5 separate regions of the Homo sapiens genome follow, and regions 1, 2, 4 and 5 are each linked to region 3. Evidence: promoter capture Hi-C in 16 types of primary human blood cells and fetal thymus (Javierre and others, 2016). All regions are on one chromosome and are shown on one strand. Each heading gives the region's core, a stretch centred on a gene start or on the middle of the fragment in contact. The rest is flanking DNA. Distances are from core to core; before and after follow the strand shown. Region 1 overlaps PLXNA2 (plexin A2). Region 2 has its middle 13 kb from the start of MIR29B2CHG. Region 3 holds the start of G0S2 (G0/G1 switch 2). Region 4 overlaps PLXNA2 (plexin A2). Region 5 overlaps LOC124904504 (a long non-coding RNA gene).

Region 1 (2,700 bases), core at 125-2,624, 1.5 Mb before region 3:
GAATGCTGAGGGAGATTATAAGATTATTCCAACCCACTGTTTTTTTTTTTTTTTAATATGAAAGACACCACAGCCCACAGAAAGGAAACAAATTGACCAGGGCGACTCAAAGTGAGTCAGAAACAGGCTGCAGTCAGAACCCAGACCTCATGACAAAAAGGCAGGCGCTTCCTCCATTGTAGGTGGAAGGGTCCTGGGAGTTAGTTACGTTTTGCCTTCAGGCTGTCCTGTTTTCGGGAAAGTGGATGCCTTTGATAATAGCCCCATGATACGCAGAAGTGAGTGTGGCATTGGGCCTGGACAACGAGGTGGTGCTCAGGGCAGATTCAAAGAGGGGCGGATTAAGGGGCAGAATGAAAGAAAGACACATGTCCGAATGGCTCCTTTCCCCCTTGGGGAGAATGATTGCTTCTGTCCTCTTCTAGGCCCAGGCAGGCCCAGGCAAATGTCACACTCAGGACCGTCACCTATGCTGTAACTTGGGGGCTATGGTGTCCTCTGCCACAACCCCACGGACAGGTCAGATTTAGTCTATGCACAGAAAGCTCCTTCTTCCCAAAGAGTTAGAGCTACAGCAGAAGGGATTAAAGTTAGATATTAAGGGGGACATTCTGCCTAGAGAGGATCTGCAGAGCATCCTGCCAAGGAGATTCTGAAATTTTCTGATATTGAATTTTCCTGGAAGCTGCCTAGGAATCAGTTTACCTAGAGGCAGGGGATTGGTCCCAATGATCTCAGAAGGCTCCTTTTGGTTTAAGATTTCTGTGAGAATAAAATTGTCTAAATGTGAGAGTCTGAGGCCCCATCTTTTCCCCGTGGGTGGAATGCTACTGAAGGACCTGTCTTCATATCCCTTGTGCAGCTGTACGTGCAAGCATTCTGAGCATCGCTCTGTCTAACACCGACCTTAGAGGTAGTCCAGGCACGTTGGGTAGCACAAGGTGAGCAAGAGGGCGAACGCAAAAGCCCCGGGTAATGCCGACGGCTGAAAGTCCTCAATTAGAGTGAAAGGAGTTATCTGGTATTTAAATAATTATTAGAGTGAAGGAATAATCATGGGTTTGAGCTGATTTTTTCCCCACTGTCACTCTGATGGCGTCTATAATATTATTATTCAAATGCCCATGATTCTCATTGAGAACCAAGAGAGAGGAGAGAGTGGGGGTGAGGGGGTGGGGAGCAGGGAGAGGGTGGGGAGAGAGACTCATTTAATCTCCATGTGACAGGGCTGCAGGAGGTACGATTAGTCTTTTTCTTATTTCAGCTGTCACTCATGCACAGACACCGAAGATTGTTATTAGTATATTTTATGCACGCGATTTAAAGGGAAAAGGGGGAGGGGGGTGAGGAGAGAAAGAATTTCCTATGGAAAATAGCGGGACCAAAGGAACAATTTAGATGTCACTTCTGTACCAGCTGCGTTTGCTTCATTAATCGAATGTCATTTTTTCCCTAGACTCTGTGCGGTTATGTGAAGCGAAGTGGCTATACCTTGCCCCAGAGTGAAGAAGGAAGGTGAGAGGAGAGAGGGGAGGAAAATAGGTCTCTGCCTGCATGTACCCTTGGCAGCCTTCTCTGAGAAGGTGACACAGATGACACTGTGGCCCCTCCAGGAGGTGTCAAGACAAATTTGGGTGACAATTTCTACCCAGTCACCCTCTCTTACTATGAGAAGGTGGATCTCCTGCTTATCTTCATATATGCGATTCGTTTCACAGGTGGGATAAACTACATCCACGCTCCAATAACCAAGGAGTAAGAGATGGAAATTTGGGGAGGCTCTCAAAATCTCGATCAGTAATAAGGAAAGAACCCATACTCCAGGCGGTGAGGCAGCAGGGGCTGTGAGAGGGGAGCTGCGTGCGGCTCTCAGCTTTGGACAAGGCCCTTAGATCTTACATATGTGCGTGACAGTGAGGGACCCTCCATCTCTGCAGTGGTGAACAGAGGCAGGGTAATGGGGCACAAGTGCAGGGGCTGGATACTAGCAAGAAAGCGAGGGATTGAGTTAAAGGCTGAATTGTGTCCCCTGGAAATTCCTGTGTTGAAGCCTAACCCTAAGTACCTCAGAATGTGTTCTTATTTGAGACGGTGTCTTTTGTTACTGTTGTTTTGGTTTGGTTTTTTTGAGACGGGGTCTCGCTCTGTCTCCCAGTCTGGAGTGCAGTGGCGCGATCTCAGCTCCTTGCAGCCTCCATCTCCTGGACTCAAACCATCCTCCCACATCAGCCCTAGGAACCACAGGGATCTGTGGGGCCACAGGCACCTGTCTACACCTGGCTAATTTTTATTTTTATTTTTGTAGAGATGAGGTTTCATGATGCTAGCCAGGCTGGTCTTGAACTCCTGGGCTCAAGTGATCCTCTAGCCTCGGCCTCCCAAAATGCTGGGATTACAGGCGTGAGCCATGGCACCCGTCCCTGAGACAGGGTCTCTACAGAGGTAATCAGGTTAAGATGAGGTCACTAGGGTAGGCTCTAATGCGGTGTGATCTGGTGTCCTTATAAAAAGGGGGAAATGTGGAGCCTGAGACAGACACTCACAGAGGCCAGGTGATGTAAAGAGACATCCACATCCTCATCTGACCATCTACAAGCTCAGAAGAGAGGTCTGGAACAGCTCCTTCCCTCACAGCCATCAGAAGGAATCAACTCTGCCCACATCCTCATCTGGGACTTCCCAGTTTCTGAACTTGGAGAA
Region 2 (2,719 bases), core at 83-2,582, 1.8 Mb before region 3:
CACCCACATCACCTGACAGTGCTTTAAGCACACAATACTGTACCTAGCAAACCCCCTCTCACCAAAATCTCTACCTCTCTGGGCCACGCAGTCTCATGTTTTTAACCACTCTTCACGTGCCAGCAGCTCTGCTCTGTACTTCAACTAGTAGTTTGACATTTTCCCTCCTAATTGAGATCAGGAACTGGAGCGGCCCTCCAAAAGTGGCCTGAGAAGGCCAAAGGGCAGCCGGCTCTGATCTCCCAGAGAACCTTCTTCCTCCCTTAGGAGTCCTCACTCCCTGTCTTGCTTAATCTTCCCCTGCCCCTCAACTCCCAACCCAGCCCTCCCATACACACAATAATTAAAACCTTGCTATGTGCCTTCTTCAGACCCTCTCAGTCTTGAGCTTAGGAATCTGCCAATAAGCCTTTGTTGAATTATTTCTGTATGACACACACTAAGCCATTTCACATATATTATCTCCATTAATCTGCTCAATTTCCCTTAGCTGGGAATCAATCCCAATGCTCACCTGCTCCTTTTTCGAGAGTTAGCTGGATAGATTCTTTCCACGTGGCCAAACTCCAGCAAGGAGAAGGTGCTTTGATACTCTTGATGTTGGACAAGAGTCTGAGACCCATGGACTCTACTAGACTAAGCAATATGTCTACCTGTATCCTTCACTCTTTCCCAGATGAGATAGACAGCAATCCTGCAGGCCCCACGTTTGCCATGATTGTTCTTCCTTCTCCAGATGCCAACAGTTTAACCCCTTGTTACAATTTAGAGCCAAGATAATAGGCTGTCATGTCTCATGTCACACGTGGCTCATCTGTAGCCTCCAATTAGAGTCTGAACTTTTCAAAGAAAGGGTCCAGGCAAGCTTCAAAATTCTTTTTTCATTCTTGCCAAAGCGATACTTCTAGCAGCACTCAATCAATACTTGCTGATTGCCTGATTGGACTAGATTAGGCCTGTCAACATGACAACCCCTAAATCCCCAACAAACACACTGGAAATGGGCTCACTTGATGTGAATCCCTTCCCTGCCCACCCACACAGGTCCTCTGAGGTTTCTCCTACTCTCTCCTTCCTTTGATCTAAATGTATCAAACAAGAATGTGCTCTTCTAACTGCAGCTTCTGGAAAGGGTCCCCAAGCAAATATCAAAGGGACACTCAACCTGTAGTGTCACAAACACCAGCAATCACCTCACCCCTCTGCCTGACGGATGCCAAGGACAGCTGGCTCTGGACTAAAAACAGTGCAACCCCAAATCTGAGCCCTGGGGATCTTTTATGTGTTTTCCTTTTCCCTGTGACCCCATGTGAGGCTGAGAACAAAGGAGACAGAAATCAGCTGTCCTCATCACACAGGTGGGAAGGCCACTGTCAGACCCACCCTCTCCCAGGGAATCAAAGACCAGAGACTCTAATGGTTCCCCATGGCTACCAACTGTAAATTTCAACTAAGAGTAGAAAGTGGCCTTACCTGATACGGTAACAGAAGAAGAAAGGAAAGGAGCAGAGGAGTGCCACCCAGGGCCCTAGGAGGTAGGTGGAGAGGTGGAGCTTTGCATGCCTTCAAGTGCCTCCTGCGGTGGGCTAAAACTCTTACTGTTATTAAGAACATACAGCAACCAAGGAAAAGAGGGGGACAAACCCTCTACTTTATGGCCTAGATCCAGGCATTTCACAGATTCTGATGCGCTCCAGACAGAAGCTCAGGGTCCTTTTGAGACATGAAGAGTCTTGACTGCACAAGAGAAGACCAAAAGTTCTTTGGAGATGGTTCTAGGTCCCCACTTTAGTTAATTAACAAGCTTTTACCAAGTACCTCCTAATTCTTCTAAGTACTTCCAACACCTACGACACAGCCAGGCACACAGTGTGGATGCTGCTACTGAATCCAGGACAGGAGGGAAAAGAGAATCAAAATTAAATATAAGATACGGTTCATAACCAAAGGCGTTCCTGAAATAGCTTCCAGAGCTAACATGATTTGGGAACAGTTATAAAACAGCCTCACTGCTAGGAAGCTTCTCGTGGGCCTGGACTGCGTCTTACAGCCCTTTAAGCCACCACATGGTGCACATCCATGTCCAGTAACCATCCACTGGGCAAACAGGCCGATGAACACAGGAAGGAAACACAGCACAACTTCCGTGAGGCCTACTTCTAAACATTCGAAATACCAAGTTTACCCCTCATTTTTGGAATCATACAATGCTGAGATACAACTGACTGGCCACTTCCTGCCTACCTGTAGGCTATCCCCAGAGTCGTCATGTATCACCTTTGTATAAGAAATGTGTCCCAGCAAGCCAATCTCAACATTTAACCTCCTTCCCACACCCATCCCAACACTTGGCTCCCCCATCTCCTTTTTCTCTCTCATATGCAGAACCAAGTAACAAGTTAAAAAATGGCAGGAACTCTTTCTGAGTAAACTTTGCTCCTTGGCCAAGATGATAAAGCTGAGCTTCACCGTGGAATGCGTCCCTCCTCCCGGTGATTGGTAACCTGCTCAGGCACAGAATGGAAGCTGGCCAGCTGACCTCCAGGACTCAGCCATCTCCCTGGGGCCTGCAGAAGGACCAGGGACAGAGGCTACCTCCCTGCAGCCCTTGTTGGGCCCCACGGCCCTGACCACCACCGACCCCCACTTTGGGAGATGAGGAATAGAACTAGATTCTCCATCTGGCTGAGAGCCCGTTTACAGGGCTCTGGCTTCCTCC
Region 3 (2,700 bases), core at 119-2,618:
GTCCGACCGACTGCAAAGGCTGTTGCAAGATTGCATCACTGACCTTTGCAATTTTCTGGCCAGTTTGATTTCCCCTTCTTTCCCCTGCCCCCTCCCTTTCTCTGCTTAAAGGCCTTTGGCCAATTTGCCTCTCCTTTTCCCCAAGTTTGCTAACCCTTTGGCCAATTTGCCTCTCTTTTTCCCCAAGTTTGCTAACTCTAGCATATCCATAACCAAAGCCAAACTAGAACGCTCCCTCAGCCCCAGGTGATTACAGCTAACCCTGGTCAAAATCAATCCTACATCTTCACACGTCCAAGAGTACTCACACTCTGGATTCTTACCTAAGCTGTCTACTACACGCCCTTCTGCCCACAAACTGCTTCAAAGCTGAAGTTGAGCTGGAGCAGTGAAGTTGTACCCCCAAACCCAGGAGGGTGGCAGAGAATTATTGAGGAGAGCATGAAATACTTCCATTCTAAAATGGCAGATGAACTTCTACCAACAGCCCCTTCCATACTTGACCCCCTACCCCCAAGCTCCCAACTCCACTTCTCAAGTGGAAGTGAGAACAATTTGAATTTGAAGGCTCTTCCCTGATACACGGAAGTACATAAGGAAACAGCTCGCAGGCAAAGAGACTAATCTCTCTCTCTTTCTCTCTCTCTCTCTCTCTCTCTCTCTCTCTCACACACACACACACACACACACACACACCTCTGTGCATAAAAGCACCATCAATGAATAGTTTTCTATCAACTGACTCTAGTTATACATGCATGTACCTCTAAATAAAACCAACCAGGCAGGAAAGAAACAATATTAGCACATATTGCTTTATCCAAGCGTAACCTGTTCTGTCCTGTTACCCAGATCCTTCCCCCTTGCCTTCTCCTCTCTGATCCATTGCCACACACGTGGGAAGGTGACAACCCTTCCGAATAAAAATGAAAGCTTTCTTCTTTAGATGGAACCCCCAAATTCCCTCATTATTTATAATGTCAGGCTGTCCTGGACAAGGGAAGCTGTGCACCCGCTGACACCAGTAAGAAGGTTGCCGCCATGTCAGAGATGTCCGCGGACACCTCCCTGGGCTCCGGGTCCTCCCCTGCGCTCGCCTGGAGTGGGACCTTCGCGTGCACACTGGCCTTCCCACGCGCCCCGCTGCGATGGCACCCGCGCCGGGCCCCCTAGCTCACACAGTCGGAGCGTGCTCAGCGCGTGGCCACCTCCTGCCAGGTCCCAGCCGGGTTCCACCCCCTCCTTTTCCCCTCCTCTTCTTCCTCCCCCTCCGAGTTCCCCTGGCTCTGACCGCGCTGGCCTGGGCCGGAGAGCCCAGGAGGCGTGTCTCAGAGAAAAGATATAAGCGGCCCCCGGACGCTAAAGCGGTGCCAGCGGCGGAGTCTCCAACTGGGAGAGCTGCAGCTGCCGAGAGGAGGAGAACGCTGAGGTCGGTCGGACCAACGGACGCGCTGACCGCTGCCAACTGCAGCTCGCGCTGCCTCCTGCTCGCGCCGTGCCACTAAGGTAGTCCGCCTTTCTATGAGCCCTCCCCAAGATTAGCTGGGTGCGGGGTGGTGGGAGCCGTTCTTTGGTGGCTGAAGCCCCTCTCCTGCTGCTCCTCCTGCAGGTCATTCCCGCCTCCGAGAGCCCAGAGCCGAGATGGAAACGGTCCAGGAGCTGATCCCCCTGGCCAAGGAGATGATGGCCCAGAAGCGCAAGGGGAAGATGGTGAAGCTGTACGTGCTGGGCAGCGTGCTGGCCCTCTTCGGCGTGGTGCTCGGCCTGATGGAGACTGTGTGCAGCCCCTTCACGGCCGCCAGACGTCTGCGGGACCAGGAGGCAGCCGTGGCGGAGCTGCAGGCCGCCCTGGAGCGACAGGCTCTCCAGAAGCAAGCCCTGCAGGAGAAAGGCAAGCAGCAGGACACGGTCCTCGGCGGCCGGGCCCTGTCCAACCGGCAGCACGCCTCCTAGGAACTGTGGGAGACCAGCGGAGTGGGAGGGAGACGCAGTAGACAGAGACAGACCGAGAGAGGAATGGAGAGACAGAGGGGGCGCGCGCACAGGAGCCTGACTCCGCTGGGAGAGTGCAGGAGCACGTGCTGTTTTTTATTTGGACTTAACTTCAGAGAAACCGCTGACATCTAGAACTGACCTACCACAAGCATCCACCAAAGGAGTTTGGGATTGAGTTTTGCTGCTGTGCAGCACTGCATTGTCATGACATTTCCAACACTGTGTGAATTATCTAAATGCGTCTACCATTTTGCACTAGGGAGGAAGGATAAATGCTTTTTATGTTATTATTATTAATTATTACAATGACCACCATTTTGCATTTTGAAATAAAAAAACTTTTTATACCATATCTCATGTAATTCCTGAGAGGTGTGGTGTCCTGGGGTGGGAAGCAGGGAGGGTGAGCAGGTGGGCGATGGTGATGGGTTCTTACCTGAGCACTGCAGAGGGAGCAGCTTCCTGAGGGTCAGACACTTGCTTCACACCTAGGAACTGTGTAATAAGTTACTACATGCATATAAGTCTGTTGAGGACTTGTTTTTCCTTCTTGTTAGGGGTGGGAAGAGAGAAAATTTTATAACTTCCGTGAGATTTAGCATTTTAACATCAAAAGGTAGATCAACTTCTGAGCTACAGTGAGTAGGAGATAACTGATTAATTCTAAGGCAGAAAAGCTCTTTGTTCCTTACACCTGTGCACCAG
Region 4 (2,700 bases), core at 188-2,687, 1.6 Mb before region 3:
AGAAGCAGCCTGCTGCTGTTGGGTTGGGGCGAAAGGGGTCACTGAGGCTTTCCCCTCTGTGCTGTGCTGGCACTGCCTGTGTGCCCCTCCTCTGCCCGCCCCTCACACTTGGGACCCCCAGAGTCCTGGCCCTGTCCTCTTATGGACTACAGTCTTGTGCTGCATATTGACGTTTTGGTCAATGACGGACCATATATACGACGATGGTTCTTTAAGATCATAATGGAGCTGAAAAATTCCTACCACCTTGTGGCATTGTGGCAGTCATAAGTCATAGGAAAGCCTAGCATATACAATTATGTACAGCACATAATACTTGATAATGATGCTAAATGACTAGGTTATTGGTTTATGTACTCACTATATTTTTTATTGTTATTTTAGAGTGTACTCCTTCTACTTATTTAAAAAAAGCTAACTGGAAAACAGCCTCAGGGAGGACCTTCAGGAGGGATTCCAGAAGAAGGCATTGTCATCATAGGAGACGACAGCTCTATGCATGCTATTGCCCCTGAAGACCTCACAGTGGGACAAGATAAGGAGGTGGAAGACAGTGATATGGATGATCCTGACCCTGGGTAGGCCTAGGCTGATGTGTGTCTTTGTGTCTTAGTCTTTAACAAAACAAATTTAAAAAGTAAAAAAGTGAATTTCAAAAATAGAAAAAATATTATAGAATAAGGATATAAAGAAAGAAAATATTTTTGTACAGCTGTACAATGTATGTGTTTTAAGGTAAGTGTTATTACAAAGAGTCAAAAGGTTAAAAAATTAAGTCTATAAAGTAAAAAGTTATAGTAACTGGCCGGGCGCAGTGGCTCATGCCTGTAATCCCAGCACTTTGGGAGGCCGAGGCAGGCGGATCACCTGAGTTCGGGAGTTTGAGACCAGCCTGAGCAACATGGGGAAACGCTGTCTCTATTAAAAATCCAAAATTAGCCAGGCTTGGTGTTGCATGCCTGTAATCCCAGCTACTCGGGAGGCTGAGGCAGGAGAATCACTTGAAGCCGGGAGACAGAGGTTGCAGTGAGCCGAGATCGCACCATTGCACTCCAGCTTGGGCAACAAGAGTGGAACTCCGTCTCAAAAAAAAAAAAAAAAGTTATAATAACTAAGGTTAATTTATAATTAAAGAAGGAAACAATTTTTTAATGAATTTAGTGTAGCCTAAGTGCATACTGTGTTTATAGTCTATGGTAGTGTACAGTAACGTCCTAGGCCTTCACATTCACTCACCACTCACTGAACTCACCCAGAGCAACTTCCAGTCCTGCAAGCTCCATTCATGGTAAATACCCTATATGGCGTACCATTTTTAATCTTTTATATCATATTTTTACCATCCCATTTTTATGTTTAGATACACAAGTACTTACCATTGTGTTACAATCGCCCATGGTGTTCAGGACCAGTCACATGCAGTACAGGTTTGCAGCCTAGGTGTGTAGTAGGGTACACTGTCTAGGTTTGTGTAAATACATGCCATGATGTTCACACAAGGATGAAATCGTCTAATGACACATTTGTCAGAATGTATCCCCATGGTTAAGCGATGCATGACTGTACATGTGCTCGCTGGGAGAGCTCAAGGGCCCCCACAGCTATAGCTTTATAGGGTGTAAAGCCTCTATGCATTTGACATGCTGTTCCCTGTGCTGGTCAAGCATGTCCACTGACAAATGCCTACCCATCCTCAAGTCTCTACTCAAAAGATGCCTCCTCAGGGAGGCCTCCCTGGACTCCCTTAGTAGATTTACTAGCCCCTTCTTCTACCCTCCCACTTCCTTCTATGAACACCTCCAGGACCACAATTGCCACACTGCATTGTAACTGCTTATTCCCTCAATAAGACGATAACTATCTTGGGACAAGGGACTATCTAGCTTTTCTTAGGAAACTAATCCTTAGCACGCTGCCTGGAACGAGTAACTGTCAATAAATATCCCCAATTCTCTGTTAAAAGGAAATGCTGGTCTCAACCAGACACTAGAACAGACTGTATTCTTTAATGATGACTGGATGAGTGGAGGTACCTAACTGTTGCTTGAGAGTGATGTAGTATTTTAACATCAGGATCATTAAACAGCTCTTCCTGCAATCTCCCTTGCTTTAATTTAAGCCAATTTCTGGTTTGATTCCTCATCGAATGGAGGACTGAACAGCTGCCTCCTCATCAAACATCTTTTAGCTACTGAAGACAGCAATTAAGTCACCCCTGGCCTTTGCTTCTGCAGTCCTTCCAGCCTTTTCACCGAAGATCTTGGTTTCTAAACCCTTTGATCATTTTGGATGCTTTTCTGTGGACTCTCGGATTTCTATGCATCTTTTGAGAGTGTAGTGACCCGCACTCGGGTCGTGCCTTCAGCAAAGGCCTGATTGATTGATGTGCAGTAAGGAGGGCCTGCGAAGATGACTTCCTTTGCTTGTCACACACGCCATTAACCAGGCTGGCCCTGGGCAAAACCCAGTGGAGGATAAACATTTGGTATCTTTCCCATGTTCTTTTGTGTTTTCCTCCCTGGGGTTCTTTCCCCCACTTTAGGCACCTTTCATTCAGCTGTTCCCTCCTCCCTTTCTGTATTTGTATACAGCAAGTACGGAAAGCTGTATTTGCGTCTTAATGGGACTTTTAAGTTGTGTTATTACTTGGCCTTAAGAGCACTGATATCTATTGACTGGTTGTAGAATAAAAAGTGTGTA
Region 5 (2,700 bases), core at 105-2,604, 1.7 Mb after region 3:
ACTAATGCACTGAATTTTTGTAACAACTCTGATAGGCAAGTCTTCTGCCCATTCCATAGATGAAAAATCTGGTAAAGAGATCCAAGCATTAGGCACTGTCCTAAGAATGTTACATATATTAACATATTAATCTTAGAACAACCTCATGAGGTATATGCTGTATTATCCCCACTTTACAGATGAAACAACTGAGGCACAGAGAGTTTATGTAATAAGCTCTAGGTTACTCAGCTAATAAGTGGTAGTGCTAGGATCTGAATCCAGGCAGTCTGGCCTCACAGGCTCCACTCTTAACCACTACACAGACTGCCTCATATGGATACTGATGAATTCTAAACACACACACACACATATATATAAAGATACACCTTTAAATGAGTTAGAAGAGTAACTACTATTCATAGAATAAAAATCAAATATAACTTTCAAACCACTAAAGCGGGAAAAAAACTGGAAAAAAAGACTGTCAAACCAAAGGCAGTAAAGAGAACAGGAAGCATGATACATAGAAAAAAATGAGTGAGATATATCTATGAATAAGTTAAGTGTTAGTATTAACAGGGAGAAATCTCAAATGAGGGGGACATGTACATGCTTTTAAAAAACATACCGAAAACAAAATAGAGTTAATAACTGCATTAGCTTTATAGTCAGAGAAACTCTTGCACACGTGTACCAGGAAACATGTACAAGAAAATTTACTGTCAGCAGTTGGTAACAGCAAAAAAAAAACCAAACAACAAAACAAAAAAACTGGGGCAAAAAAATAACCTGTGTTGGCATGGAATGGAGCAACAGCAGCTCTCCTACATTGCTGATGGAGGGTAAGTTAGTACAACCACTGGAGAACAATTTGGCAATATCAAAGTTGAACTGTGCAAACCCTTCCACCTTGCAATTCCATTTCTAGACATTATCCTAAGGAAATTCTTACCATATGTCTAAGAAGCTGTGTGCAAGAACTAACTCATGTTATAATGACAGAAATCAGGAATCATGAAATTGCTAGCAACTGGAGAATGGATAAATGGTGGTACAATTATACAATGGAATACTATTCAGCAGTTAAAATAAAACTAGAACTACAGGAATCATCCTGGATAAATTTTACATACATAATTATAGGTGGCAAAAGTAAGTGACATGCATATCATTTATATTAGGTTTAAAAAGCATAAAACAGTACTTTATGCTACTTAACATCGCTACATGTATTTGGAGCATACATAAAAGCTTTCATGGGAATGACAGATACCAAATTCAATGAAGTAGTTAATTTCAGAGAGGAAGAGAGGGAGAATGAGATTGCAGGCAGTTTCACAAGGAGCTCTAACTGAATGTTAAAATCTGAAGCAAATAAGAGAAAATGTTAAAATGGGATAAAGCTAGATGGTTGGTATACAAGTGTTCATTATATTATTTTCTGTAACTGTACATTCTGGTAATATTTCATATTAAACATTTTAAAGGAAAGTTAAGCTTCCAAGATTCTATAAAAAGAACAAAATAAACCCAAAGAGATAAGAAGAAATTAATGAAGGCATACATTAATGAAAGAGAAATTACTTTTAAGACAGATTTTATCTATAAAACCAAAAGCTGGTTTGATAAATATGATCAAGAAAAAGACTCCAATACAATATATAAGAATATATATATAAGAATATATAAGAATGGTTGAGAACAATATGAGATTTTTTTAAATGTTAGAAAATATAGCTGAAATACTTTTTTTTTAAAGATGGAGTCTCGCTCTGTCCCCCAGGCTGGAGTGCAGTAGCAAAATCTCAGCTCACTGCAAGCTCCGCCTCCCGGGTTCAAGCCATTCTCCTGCTTCAGCCTCCTGAGTAGCTGGGACTACAGGCGCCCGCCACCATGCCCGGCTAATTTTTCATTGTCGTATTTTTAGTAGAGACGGAGTTTCACCGTGTTAGCCAGGATGGTCTCGATCTCCTGACCTCGTGATCCGCCCTCCTCGGCCTCCCAATGTGCTGGGATCACAGGCGTGAGTCACCGCACCCGGCCAATACTTTTCTAGAAAAAACTAATTTTCTCAAGAAGCAAAAGAAAAAATTCTAGGTATCAATAACGATGGACGCTATATAAAAAACAAAACTATCCATTAAGATGGCACCACACCCAGAAGGCTTTAAAGATGAGTTCTTCAAAACCTAAGAAATGTATCATTCACACATGCTATGTCTATTCCAGGTCATACAAAAATAAGTTAACCTGTCTGACTCCTAGCACAACCTGATACCAAAACTAGACAAGGACAGCAAAAGAAAACCATAAGCCAATCTAACTTAGGTGCATACATGAAAATCCAAAATTAACTACACAGCAAATTGCATCCAGCAATATATTGAAAAAATAAGATACCAGGATTCTAAGTTTGGCTCACCATTAGAAAATCTATTATTGTAGTTATTTTATTGTAGAGTAATGGAAAAAAGGCCATACAATCATCTCAAAGACTGATACTGAAAATACTTGGTAAAACTTAGTCATTTGCTGATTAAAAAAAAAACCGATATGGTAAACTACGAAAAGAACATAATTTGCCTATACACCCACACACACACACACCATAAACCTGCAGAAGATATCTTGAATGAAACCTAAGATGCAATCCAAAATAACTCCTGGTAAGAAATAAGTACCTCCGGCTACTATTCAGTGTTGCACTGGATTCTTGGG

Evidence for each region. Contacts are between HindIII fragments. The CHiCAGO score rates a contact against its expected background, and 5 or more counts as called.
Region 1: a fragment that was not itself captured here is called in contact with the fragment with the promoter of G0S2 in region 3 in 1 of 17 cell types (M0 macrophages); the score reaches 5.3 in M0 macrophages.
Region 2: a contact is called between a fragment that was not itself captured here and the fragment with the promoter of G0S2 in region 3, in 1 of 17 cell types (neutrophils). The highest score is 5.2, in neutrophils.
Region 4: a contact is called between a fragment that was not itself captured here and the fragment with the promoter of G0S2 in region 3, in 1 of 17 cell types (M0 macrophages). The highest score is 9.0, in M0 macrophages.
Region 5: a fragment that was not itself captured here is called in contact with the fragment with the promoter of G0S2 in region 3 in 1 of 17 cell types (neutrophils); the score reaches 7.7 in neutrophils.

The regions. Positions count from the first base shown.
Region 1 is chr1:208,223,193-208,225,892 of GRCh38, forward strand. All of the region lies in intron 1 of PLXNA2 (plexin A2), which reads right to left. LOC105372884 (a long non-coding RNA gene) reads left to right here. Exons shown (of 5, transcript XR_001738428.3): 4 at 1,457-1,515; 5 at 2,512-2,700. Among named protein-coding and RNA genes, the nearest start is that of PLXNA2, 20 kb to the right of the region's middle. The HindIII fragment of the contact is 6,580 bases long and covers 1-2,700 here.
Region 2 is chr1:207,834,236-207,836,954 of GRCh38, forward strand. No RefSeq gene overlaps it. Among named protein-coding and RNA genes, the nearest start is that of MIR29B2CHG, 13 kb to the left of the region's middle. The HindIII fragment of the contact is 939 bases long and covers 864-1,802 here.
Region 3 is chr1:209,674,044-209,676,743 of GRCh38, forward strand. G0S2 (G0/G1 switch 2) reads left to right here and starts at 1,369. Exons shown (of 2, transcript NM_015714.4): 1 at 1,369-1,506; 2 at 1,610-2,347. The coding sequence starts at 1,642. The coding sequence ends at 1,953. All of the region lies in intron 1 of HSD11B1-AS1 (HSD11B1 antisense RNA 1), which reads right to left. RefSeq lists an enhancer at 1,481-2,329. The HindIII fragment of the contact is 4,554 bases long and covers 932-2,700 here.
Region 4 is chr1:208,066,260-208,068,959 of GRCh38, forward strand. The region is part of intron 12 of PLXNA2 (plexin A2); the gene reads right to left. Among named protein-coding and RNA genes, the nearest start is that of LINC02767, 110 kb to the left of the region's middle. The HindIII fragment of the contact is 3,089 bases long and covers 1-2,700 here.
Region 5 is chr1:211,379,459-211,382,158 of GRCh38, forward strand. It overlaps LOC124904504 (a long non-coding RNA gene), which reads right to left. Exons shown (of 2, transcript XR_007066868.1): 2 at 1-2,700. Among named protein-coding and RNA genes, the nearest start is that of LINC00467, 1.9 kb to the right of the region's middle. The HindIII fragment of the contact is 246 bases long and covers 1,232-1,477 here.